Regions from separate parts of the Homo sapiens genome. Here region 2 is linked to region 1. The links are contacts of gene promoters, found by promoter capture Hi-C in blood cells and fetal thymus (Javierre and others, 2016). All regions are on one chromosome and are shown on one strand. The core of a region is centred on a gene start or on the middle of the fragment in contact, and the rest is flanking DNA. Distances in the headings are between cores, read along the strand shown.

Region 1 (5,810 bases), core at 56-2,555:
ATAGGTATCCCATATGGCTGCTTAAGAGAAGAAGATGGAGTCATCTACGGACAAGCAGAGAACATTCTAGAAATCAATAAGAAAAATGGCTGGGTGCCGTGGCTCATGCCTGTAATCCCAGCACTTTGGGAGGCTGAGGCGGTTGGATCCCCTGAGCTCAGGAGTTCGAGACCAGCCTAGCCAAGATGGTGAAATCCTATCTCTACTAAAAATACAAAAATTAGCTGGGCATGGTGGCACATGCCTATAATACCAGCTACACTATTTGGGAGGCTGAGGCAGGAGAATCGCTTGAACCTGGGAGGTGGAAGTTGTAGTGAGCCAAGATTTCGCCACTACACTCCAGCCTGGGTGACAGAGCGAGACTCCACCTCAAAAAAAAAAAAAGGAAATGAACAGAAAGGGGAAGTAGAATAATTCTCAAGGGAAAAACTAAAAATGTGAAAACTTCATAAGGTCAGCCACAGAAAACGAGCTTGAGGGAGCCCGAGATTGTTGAATCAGCACCTTTGGTAATCACCAGCTGTCTTCTCCCCCTGATGATTTCCCAAGCTGAGCCATCTCTCCAGGTGATGAGTACATCCACCCAACGTGGGTGAGACCCCTTCTCCTTCTAGAATTTGACTTAGCATCATCAATGCCTCACATTATCATGAAAAACAAAAATTAGCTAGGGGTGGTAGTGCAGCATGCCTGTGGTTCCAGCTACTCAGGAGGCTGAAGTGAGAAGACTGCTTGAGCCCAGGAGTTCGAGGCTGTAGTGTGCTATGATTGCACTTATGAACAGCCACTGCACTCCAGTCTGGGCAACATAGTGAGACTCTGTCTCTTAGGTGGAAAAAAAAAGTGTTTATCTGTCCACTAAGTGAGCCCAAGAAATCCAGGGCAGAATGGTCACCCAGCACTTGAAGATCTCATCACACAGATAGCAAAGACCCCATCTGGATGAGTTGATAGATAACAGAGGAGCTGTCTTTGACCTTTGTCTCAAAACAACTCTGTATTTATTTCCTAGGTAAAAACATAAGTGTCGCCCTCCTGTTCTCACCCATTTCTACTTTAGGCTAGACAGAAAGTTCTTACCTTCTTTGCTGGGTTTTTTATTTACCATGAGACACAACAAGGCAGAAATCTCTTTAACATGCAGGCGTGATCCCCATCCTGTCTTCAGAGTTGGCTGAGGGATCCCAGGCTGATCTGATTTCTTTCAGACCTACAGAGCCCATAAAGAAGGTGCAGCCCTAGTCTGCCATGTCTTCTTCCTGAAAAGCAATGGTGACATTCACAGCCCTGGCCAAGTATTCACAGTGACAGGAAGGAAAGTTCAGGCTTCTTGCCTCGAAGGAGTAGGCACCCCCTGACGTCAGTCAGATCAGGCCCCCAAGGAAGATTTGAAGGGGGCGACTGCATAGTCGGGGTATCTCCCATATACCCAAGGAGATGGGTTTCTCTAACAGCACCCACGTCAGTCCTAAATCTTCTTACTCTCCTGGATTAGAAGACTGTGTTTCCCAGGCCACATCTGAGAAGCCTGAGCTCCTTAGCCCTGAAATAGCAGAGTGCTGACAAGACACAGGGGCCTAGGGGCTCTGGAGTCCAAGGGGAGTCCTCAGCAGAAGACACATAGGAGGCATTCTTTGTTGGGGCTGGCTTTTCTGTTTGCAAAGCCTGCTTGAAATATCCTGCCCTTTCTATGGACACTTTCCTTAGGATATAACCTAATCTGTGGTTAATCACTATTCTTGGACAACTTACTTTTTCAGTTAATCTAAGATGCTCGTGTGTGTGTTCTGGTAGGTACTAAATGCACCATGGAAATTCTCAAAGAAAGTGATATTCTGTTTGTCTATATCTAGTAGGTCAAGTTTGTTCATTATTATTATTATTATTATTATTATTTTGAGACAGTCTTGCTCTGTCGCCCAGACTGGAGTGCAGTGGCACAATCTCAGCTCACTGTAACCTCTGCCTCCTGGGTTCAGGCAATTCTCATGCCTCAGCATCCCGAGTAGCTGGGATTACAGGCACCCCCGCTGCCATGGCCAGCTAGTCTTTCTATTTTTAGTAGAGACAGGGTTTCTCCATGTTGGCCAGGCTGGTCTCCAACTCCTGGCCTCAAGTGATCTGCCCACCTCAGCCTCCCAAAGTGCTGGGATTACAGGTGTGAGCCTCCACACCCGGCCTAAATTTGTTAATTATATTAATTCAGATCCTCTTTATCTTTGTTTATTCTTCCTGATCTGACCATCTTTGAAAGAGGTATTTTGAAGATTTCTATGACAAGTACAGATTTAGCAAATTCTCCTTGTATTTGAGTCTTTGCATTACACGTTTTGAAGCTATATAATTAGATATTAAATTTAAACCATGTAAAATTGCCATCGGCAACTGTGTAATTACACATGAAGCCGTATTGTCATTTAACTGTCTTGGTAGAGGGTGACATAAAAATTAAATATCACTCTGCCTTTTAAAATTCTTTTTGCATTTGATTCTCTTTTGTCTGATATTAACATTTTCACATTAGCTTAGTTTTTGTTAGTGGCTGACTGCTAACATTCTTTCTCCAAGTTGACTAAAAGACTGATAAAATCCTGTATTACTGAGAGTATGAGAAAAAGGACCCTCTCCATATACTATTGCTGGGATCGTTAAAATGTTTCATTTTGGGGGAATTAAATTAAATTTTAATTGTAATTTATTAAATTACATACTTAAAATATGTAAATCCTTTAATCTAGAAATTATACTTCTAAGTATCTTACAGAATTATACACCCATGCAAAAATCTATATAAGGATTTTTATTACTGTATAATTTGTGATTAGGAAAAGTTGGAAAATAACCTAAGATATTTTTTTATGTGGTATTACCCATATTTTCTAGTTTCCATATTGATGCTTTGACATTTTGGGGCCTTGTTGACCAGGGAGAGACTACACCTCCTGGGATTAGCTGATCCCTGAGATGCAAACTAACCAATCTAGAGCCCTACCACCAAATCCCTCCTTTTTTGGACTTTCATACTCAAGGCCGTTATCTCTCTACCCTAATCACCCTGACATCATATATCAGACAACTCAGTGCAGTCTACAGTCAGGAGTCAGCTGACACTATTCCAACTAGCTAGTCCTCCACCTGCTTAGCCGCCTTACCCTGCCTCACCCATTCCTTCCCTCGAAAACCACAGTTCTCCTGTCCTCTGCCTGTGACCAACCTCAGTGTTCTCTCCCGTGGCTGTGCAGGTGTGACCTCTCCTCTTGGGAACGAGGAGTAATAAGCTATCTTTTAAATGGCAATTGTCCCCTGATCTGTTGGCCTTATCATACCTGAATAAAAATAGAATCTACATTTTAAAACGTTTATGCATTTTTAAATGTCTTAATGAGTACAGATGGCAGTTATCACTAGGGGTACTCATGGGGAGAGTGCCATCCACAAGTGGGGAAGAGAGGCAGAGGATCACATTATGTACTGTTTGATTTATTTTTATATTAGAAATCTGTTACTTGTGTTCTTATTATTATTATTTTTTTTTTTTTGAGACAGAGTTTCGCTCTTGTTGCCCAGGCTGGAGTGCAATGGCGCAATCTCGGCTTACTGCAACCTCTGCTTCCTGGGTTCAAGCGATTCTCCTGCCTCAGCTTCCTGAGTAGCTGGGATTACAGGCATGTGCCACCATACCTGGCTAATTTTTTATTTTTAGTGGACACAGGGTTTCTCCATGTTGGTCAGGCTGGTCTTGAACTCCTGACCTCAGGTGACCCGCCAGCCTCAGCCTCCCAAAGTGCTGGTATTACAGGCGTGAGCATGGTGATGCCCAGTCACTTGTGTACTTTTTAAAAACAGAATATTTTGAAAACCAGCTCTCTCCATCTGCCATGAAAGCTCTGTAGGCCAAGCCATTTTTATTTAAAAATATATATATATTTTTTGAGAACGGGTCTTACTTGCCCAGGCTGGTATTTGCAGTGGCACAATCACAGCTCACTGCTGCCTTGACCTTCCCGGACTCAGGCAATCCTCTTGCCTCAGCCTCCCAAGTAGCTGGGACCACAGGCATGTGCCACCATACCCACCTAATTTTTGTATTTTTTGTAGAGATGGGGTTTTGCTATGTTGTCTAGGCTGGTCTTGAGCTCATGCAATCCACCTGTCTCGGCCTCCCAAAGTGCTGGGATTACAGGTGTGAGCTGCTGCGCCCAGCCAAAATTTTTTAAATAAAATTTTCAATTTTATTTATTTATTTATTTATTTTAGGCCAGGCGTGGTGGCTCATGCTTGTAATCTCAGCACGTGAAAGGCCGAGGTGGGTGGATCACTTGAGGTCAGGAATTCAAGACCAGCCAGGCCAACACGGCAAAAGCCTGTCTCTACAAAAAATACAAAAAATTAGCAGGGGATGGTGGTGTGTGTCTGTAGTCCCAGCTATTGCAGTGAGCAGAGATCACACCACTGCACTCTGGCCTGGGCAACTGAGTGAGATGCTGTCTCAAAATAAAAAAATAAATTTTAACTTTTTAATTAAAAAATTTTATTGCCTCTTGTTTTTAAAATTTATTTTATTTTGGTAAGAACACAACATGAAATCTACCCTTTTAACAGATTTTCTTCTTTTTTTGAGACAGGATCCCACTCTGTCACCCAGGGTAGAATGCAATGGCATGACCACAGTTCATTGCAGCCTCGACCTCCCAGGCTCAAGTGATCCTCCCACCTCTGCCTCTTAAGTACTTGGGACTACAGGCACACATCACCACTCCCAGCTAATATTTTTATTTTTGTAGAGACAGAGGTCTCACTATGTTGCCCAAGCTGGTCTCAAACTCATAGACCCAGGCAATCTTCCTGATATGAACAGGAGACGGGGAAATACTGGAAAGTTATTTATTTTGTTTGATTTATTTACCTGCCAAAAGCCCCACCCTCAAGCCTGGAAACCCGAGGCCCCAAATGGGAACAGGCATTCCTGTTTTCGTGCCCAAATGTTGCATCTTGGCCCGCCACACCCCACATCCTGTACCCATATAAACCCCGAATCCCTGGGTCCATGAGGAGATGAGCAGAAGAGCCAAAGAACTGAAGAACGGCATGGCAGAGAAGGAGCATCTGAATATCTAGAGGAGTCCAGCTGGGGACAGTTGGAGAGGAGTTCTGCCACAGGACTGCTGAACTCCAAGGGAAGATCATCTTTCCACTCCGTCCCCGTTCCAGCTCCCCATCCATCCTGCTGAGAGCCACCTCCACCACTCAATAAAACCCCCATATTCACCACTCTTCAAGTCTGTGTGTAACCTGATTCTTTCTGGGTGCTGGACAAGGGCCCGGGTACCAAGGGGACACTGAGCTGGTTAACACTTAAGCCATCTGTGGATGGCAGAGTTAAAAGAGCACTGTAGCATGCCTACTGGGGCTTCAGGAGTCAAAGCACCACCCCTAGAAGCTGCCCTGGGGCCAGAGCCCAAAAGCGCTCACTCTGGTTCCTGCACCTGCCTGTCTGTATCCTCCCGCTCCTATAAGGGGTTTGAGCTTGTGGCAGCTGAACAGAGATCAACACCCCTGTTGAGTGTCCTGCAAGGGGAGCCAGGGAACTCTCCTGTTTCACCCCCACCTCCGCCTCCTAAAGTGCTGTGATTATAAGATAAACCACCACGCCTGGCCTCTTAACAGATTTTTAAGTGTACAATAGGCACGACGTACAGATCTCTAGAAGTTATTCACCTTGTATAAATGAAACTTTACACCAGTTGAATGGCAACTTCCTATTTCCCCAGCCCCTTAGCCTTTGACAACCACTCTCTACTTCTTGC
Region 2 (6,033 bases), core at 3,002-5,501, 320 kb before region 1:
GAATATAAATTAGTACAGTCTTTTTGAGGGACAATTTGGTAAAATCAATCCAAATCTAAAATAAAGCATCGCTTCTGCAGCTTCAAAAATGTCCATCTCTGGTTAGCACTGTGATCGTTTTTCCAATGTCCATTCTGTGCCTGCCCTGCTTTGTGGAAGCCATGTGGTTCCATGGGTGGGCTGCAATTGGCCTAAGCCAATCAGTATAATCCGGTTTCCCTTTGATCCCATTATTAATTCAAGGAAGGGAATTTAACAGAGGCCCAAGGTTCAAGCCCATCAGTGCTTGTCATTCACCTAGCTACTGTGATTGATTCAGGGATGAGCAGTATCCAAATTAGGCTCAATGACAGTGAAGTGTTGTTTAATGGCTGGGGAAACTCCTTCTCTTCTCCTCTAGAAGTAAATGAGGAAGCATGTAGCTCCAGGAGTCTAAGCTCTCAATGTTATATTATCTAAACAGATTTTAAAAATTAATTCCAGCTCTAAATAATCATAATCATATATTTATTTCAACACTCATGGCTCTATCATTTATTGAGTGACACTGAGTCAATTCCTTAAGTTTTCTAAGCCTATTATCTTGCCTATAAAACATGAATAACATTCCTACTTTCATAGGGTTATTACTGTGCTAGATGGTGTAGAGCAAAAATAGATAAATAAGGTTCCCCATCTTTATAGACACTGAAAATTTAGTGAGGCAGTGACACTGGGTATTGTTCTTGCCTGTGTGCCTTCAGAATCTAACCCTGACTCTTCTGGTGGGTTGAGGAGCAACTTAACTCCTTTCAATAAATGGCTTTTCTAGTTAAAGGGGAAAAAAAAATCGGGGGAGATAGGTATACATGTAAACAAAAGAGTGAGAAGCCAAGGAAGACAACTAAAAACAGGTTGAGGAAGCCAGGTATGGTGGCTCTTGCCTGTAATTCTAGCACTTTGGGAGGCCAAGGAAGGAGGATCGTTTGGGCACAGGAGTTAAAGACCAGCCTGGGCAACATAGTGAGACCCCGTCTCTATAAAAAATAATAATAATAAAATAAAATAATAAAACAGGTTAAGGAGGGAAGTGACCAATTAAAACATTATTTTGTGGTGGGGGGTGGGGGTGGTCAGGGGATACTTTTAAATCCTAGCAGCAAGATTAATGAAGATCACTTTCCAGGTCTAGAGCAGGTGGGATAGCTGGATGGAGGTAAACTGATATGAAAGCCTGTTCTCCAGACTGATAGGAGAACCTACCCTAGCTTAGGGATAGGAAAACATGCTGAATTGAGATATGTTGTTTTCATTTCCCTGAACCTTTCTTATATGTTCATATTAATCGACAATACATTTTCCAAAATGTTACCAGAAACTTCACTTCTACAGGAGATGGCCCTGAGTGCCAAAGTAGAGAATATAGAAATTAAGAATGTGCAATGGGCAAAACTAAATTTTCACTGAAAACAAAGAAAAGTGCTGTCTCGTGGATGGGTTTTGGTTTTAAAGAAAATTTCTCAGAATATATTCAACATCAGATATCCACAAATATCTATAAACACAAAGCTCTAAATCACAAGTTACCCACGAGTGATAACATAAGGTACTTACTTCTCAGAGGGCATGTTAAGAAAAAAATATGCTGTACATTAATTACATTTTCTAGTTATTTCATGTCTGAAGCTGTCAAGAGAAAAAATAAGACCCTTGAGAAAACAATGTGAGAACATAATTTTTTATTCATATAGATAGAGGAGTGTTAAGCACCCTCTTCTAGTGCAAAAACACTTAATGCAAAAAACAACAGAGAAAAATCCATTCAGTCCAATTCACTAAGACTAGCCTAAAGCCTTAGGAGCAGTGCTCTGTTGCTTCTCTAATCCCCTGACCATGGTTCAGTTATATAGAGGAGGACTTAGAAAACAAATCGATCACATTTTTCAGTCTAGTCTGATACATAGTGTATTACAGGTCCAGCCTTATATTGTAGCACAACTAAGATAAAGGAACCAATAATGAGAGTCACATAAGAAAACACATTTTCTATGTTCCATTTCAATGGGAAGTCAGATATTCTAAGCAAGCAAGGGATTCTCAGTCAGGAAAACCAGGTTCTGTCACAACTATTACCAGTTAGTCTTTATAAGAAATGTTATTTTATGACCATGCTGCTTATATCACCAGCTATACAAGAAAATTAGCTTGCCATCCCTACATCCAAAGTTTTCCAGAAGAATTAACAGATTTAAAACTTATTTGTTAAATACCATACAGTAGTGTATATATTATTTATAGCCTCTTAATTAAATAAATCTAAATTTAAACCATCTATGGAGCCCAGTAAGATAATATTTATTAATTTTAAAACATACATACATGCAGCAAGCCCACTGCTCCCCACCAGTACATACACATATTCCCTATTAGTGTGTGACTAAATCATATCCTTGCAAGAGAAACTAAATAACCTTAAACTTAAAAAAAGGATCATTTTGGTTCAATATCTATTATTGTTGATTATGTAATCTTGTTGATTACATCAACAAGAATCACTGAAACCAATTTGCAGAATCTTTTTCTAGTAGTTCTGCCACAGTTCTAATCAGATATGATCCTCAAGTCATAACTTGGACTTATGGTAAATATTTTTTAGTTCCTTAATTCTAAAGTTCACAAAGTGTTTTAATAGGCAAAAGATATCAAAAGCTAGTATAAAAACTGCAAGGCAATTGATCCTAGAACCTCAACCATTGAGCTGATATTCTCACACTGATCTTTACATAAAAATAGTATTGAAATAAGCCGAAGCGCCATTTGGCTTTAAGTATTACCTGTTTGCCATGCTGCAGAATCTATTGGCAGTGTTTTTCAAAGTAAAAATAAAGTAGTAACTTTTTAATATGCAGCCTATTAATGCTGATACCCTAGTTTTTTCAGCATGTTATCCATACTAATGTTGTCAAACAGCTGGTCACAGATTAAAAGTAGAGCTTTTAAATCAAGACCAATTTTAATTTAACCACCACCTATAGACTTGTACATTGAAACCCCTTATTTGCCTCCTCTTGAATGTCCTACTCTTTTGAGGCTTAAATATCCAAGGTCAGAATTTCAGTATTAAGCTCCTCAGAGTAATAAAGAAAAGTTCTAGTTAAATTCTTCAGCTAAGTTCTAGTCAATGGCTTTGGAAAAAAAGCAACACACTATTAATTAGTTAAGGCAAAAAAAAAAAAAAAACTCACAAATTCTGGTTCCCTAAACAACCATTCTCTAAAATGATAAATGCAGAGCATGTGTAGAAACCCAGAAATCAAGAACCTGTAGCCAACTTAGTTTATTCCTCCCACCTAAAAAGTTTTGGATCCATGCATTGGAAAAGATGTGTGGAATGCAGGTAAATGATTTTGCACCTTGGTGAAAAGCTTTTGAGACGGCCTGAGTGTTTGAGGCCACAAGGAGACAGGAACTTCTCTGGATTCTAGTATCACCCTTAAACTACCAGGGGACAAAAGTGGAGTCCATAATAATGAACGTTCTCTCCCCAAACCCTCTTCAGCTGGGTAGTTCAATAGCAATTGGTCCACAGAAGAGTAATCAGTCCTGATCAATTCTGTATGGAGCATTAGCACCAGAATCTTACAATACATGGAACTAACCAATGCCAGAGTTGTAGTAAGTCATTCGAAAGAGGTTTCTCTGTCACGCTTGCATTAGTGTGGTTCTTAGAAGATCTGCAGGGAGGCCAGAGTCTCATAATACACTGATAGAATATCAAAAATAATTACAGAAGTCAAAGATACACATCTACCCATGGACAGGAGTTACATATTCACTTAATATCTAGAAACGTGTAAGATTGTTAAGTGTGTTTTCATAGTTAAATTCAGGTAAAGCAAACAGTTTCTCTTACTGATCCTAGTTTCTTCAATTTTCTTCAACTGATCCTAATTTTTATCACCTACCCCCAAGAAACCCACTCCTAAATAAATGTACACATTTATACAGAAAACACACAAAGTTCAATGCATGAGTAACATGGCCTTTTATAGTATTTCTCTCTGTCCCCCTTTTTTACACACTTTTAATCATGGTAACTTAAAATATACAATCTCCTAACAGTAAATACACATTCATGTAACAAGAACCATATCACTGTTATTCCACTGGATATGTCTTGAAATAGCATCGGTGGACGTGAAAGGTAATGGGATAACAGTTGGGGAGGGCCATTTGTTCAATCTTCCTTTGAAACATTTGGAAGTCTTTGTCTTTCCTTCTTCTAGAAGGCCTTCCTCAGAAAATGCAGGCAGTTCAGAAGGAAATGATCAAAACCATGAATCTCTCCTCTTGGGATATCAGCACTCTTGCTGCAAGAAGATGTCATCTCAAGTGCAAGAGCATCATCTAAAAGCACAGGAGGATATACCACCAACTATTTTACAAAAAATCTTTCTAAAAATTAATTTCTATCTCACTTGCTTTCTCACATCGTATATATTGATAACATTGGTGGGTACTATGTAGTTTAAGAAAACCTTAGATTTCAATTAGATGTATCAAAAGCAAATTTTTAAGACAATCTTTAGAATAATTACCAATCAAAACTATCTTGCGTATGGCTGGGTGCAGTGGCTCACGCCTGTAATCCCAACACTTTGGGAGGCCGAGGCGGGCAGATCACCTGAGGTTGGGAGTTCAAGACCAGCCTGACCAACATGGAGAAACCCCATCTCTACTAAAAATACAAAAAAATTAGCCCGGCATGGTGGCCCATGCTTGTAATCCCAGCTACTCAGGAGGCTGAGGCAGGAGAATCACTTGAACCCGGGAGGTGGAGGTTGCAGTGAGCAGAGATCACGCCATTGCACTCCAGCCTGGGCAACAAGAGCGAAACTCCGTCTCAAAAAAAAGAAAAACTATCATGTGTAACACACATCTCCTTTTATGCAAATAATGACTAATTTTGACAAAATGCATCCAAGTTTTGCAGACCCTGTAGTTTACACGGTTTGTATGAATTAGTTGTTCATTGCTCAACATGAATTAACTCAAATGAATGCATTGCAAAGACTCTCCCACGGCCTTGAAAGGACCTGTGCAAATGAAAGATCAAAACTTAAGCTTTGTTCACTTCACAGTACATTCACCTTTGATGTCACAGATGCTCAAAATGCTTTGTAAAGGTTAACAGATTAATTCCAATAATACAGTTAGGGGCTGGGCATGGTGACTCATGACTGTAATCCCAGCACTTTGTGAGGCCAAGGTGGGCAGATCACCTGAGGTCAGGAGTTCAAGACCAGCCTAGCCAACATAGTGAAACCCCATCTCTACTAAATATACAAAAATTAGCTGGGCGTGGTGGCACACACCTGTGATCCCAGCTACTCAGGAGGCTGAGGCATGAGGATCACTTGGAGGTTGCAGTAAGCTGAGATTGTGCCACTGCACTCCAGCCTGGGAGACAGAGCAAGACACCGTCTCAAAAAAATAAATAAATACAGTTGTGAGAATGTGGGAATTTATCATCATAATATTTTACATAATGAGATATTAAACATTGAATGACTTGCTTGAGCAAATAAATTATCATTCAAAATGGTCTGATTGGCCAGACATGGTGGCTCACACCTCTAATTCCAGCACTTAGGGAGGCCAAGACGGGCAGATCATTTGAGCTCAGGAGTTTGAGGCCACCCTGGGCAACATGGTGAAACCCCATCTCTACCAAAAATACAAAAAATTAGCCGGGCTTTGTGGCACACACGTGTGGCCCCAGCTACTCAGGAGGCTGGGGTGGGAGGATCGCTTCAGCCTAGGAGGCAGAGATTGCAGTGAGCCGAGATCACGCCACTGCACTCCAGCCTGGACAATACAGTAAGATCCCATCTCAAAAAAAATGTCTGATTTTTGTTTTGGCTTTTTTTTTTTTTTCTTTTTTTTTGAGACGGAGTCTCGCTCTGTCGCCCAGGCTGGAGTGCAGTGGCGCGATCTCGGCTCACTGCAAGCTCCGCCTCCCGGGTTCACGCCATTCTCCTGCCTCAGCCTCCC

The links. The method cuts DNA at HindIII sites, captures the fragments that hold promoters and counts their contacts. A CHiCAGO score of 5 or more calls a contact.
Region 2: a fragment that was not itself captured here is called in contact with the fragment with the promoter of PPEF2 in region 1 in 3 of 17 cell types (neutrophils, non-activated CD4 T cells and erythroblasts); the score reaches 6.2 in neutrophils.

The regions. Positions count from the first base shown.
Region 1 is chr4:75,901,147-75,906,956 of GRCh38, forward strand. It overlaps PPEF2 (protein phosphatase with EF-hand domain 2), which reads right to left and starts at 1,306. Exons shown (of 17, transcript NM_006239.3): 1 at 1,084-1,306. The HindIII fragment of the contact is 14,377 bases long and covers 1-5,810 here.
Region 2 is chr4:75,574,793-75,580,825 of GRCh38, forward strand. It overlaps CDKL2 (cyclin dependent kinase like 2), which reads right to left. Exons shown (of 14, transcript NM_001330724.2): 14 at 1,704-4,386. Among named protein-coding and RNA genes, the nearest start is that of ODAPH, 22 kb to the left of the region's middle. The HindIII fragment of the contact is 1,699 bases long and covers 3,403-5,101 here.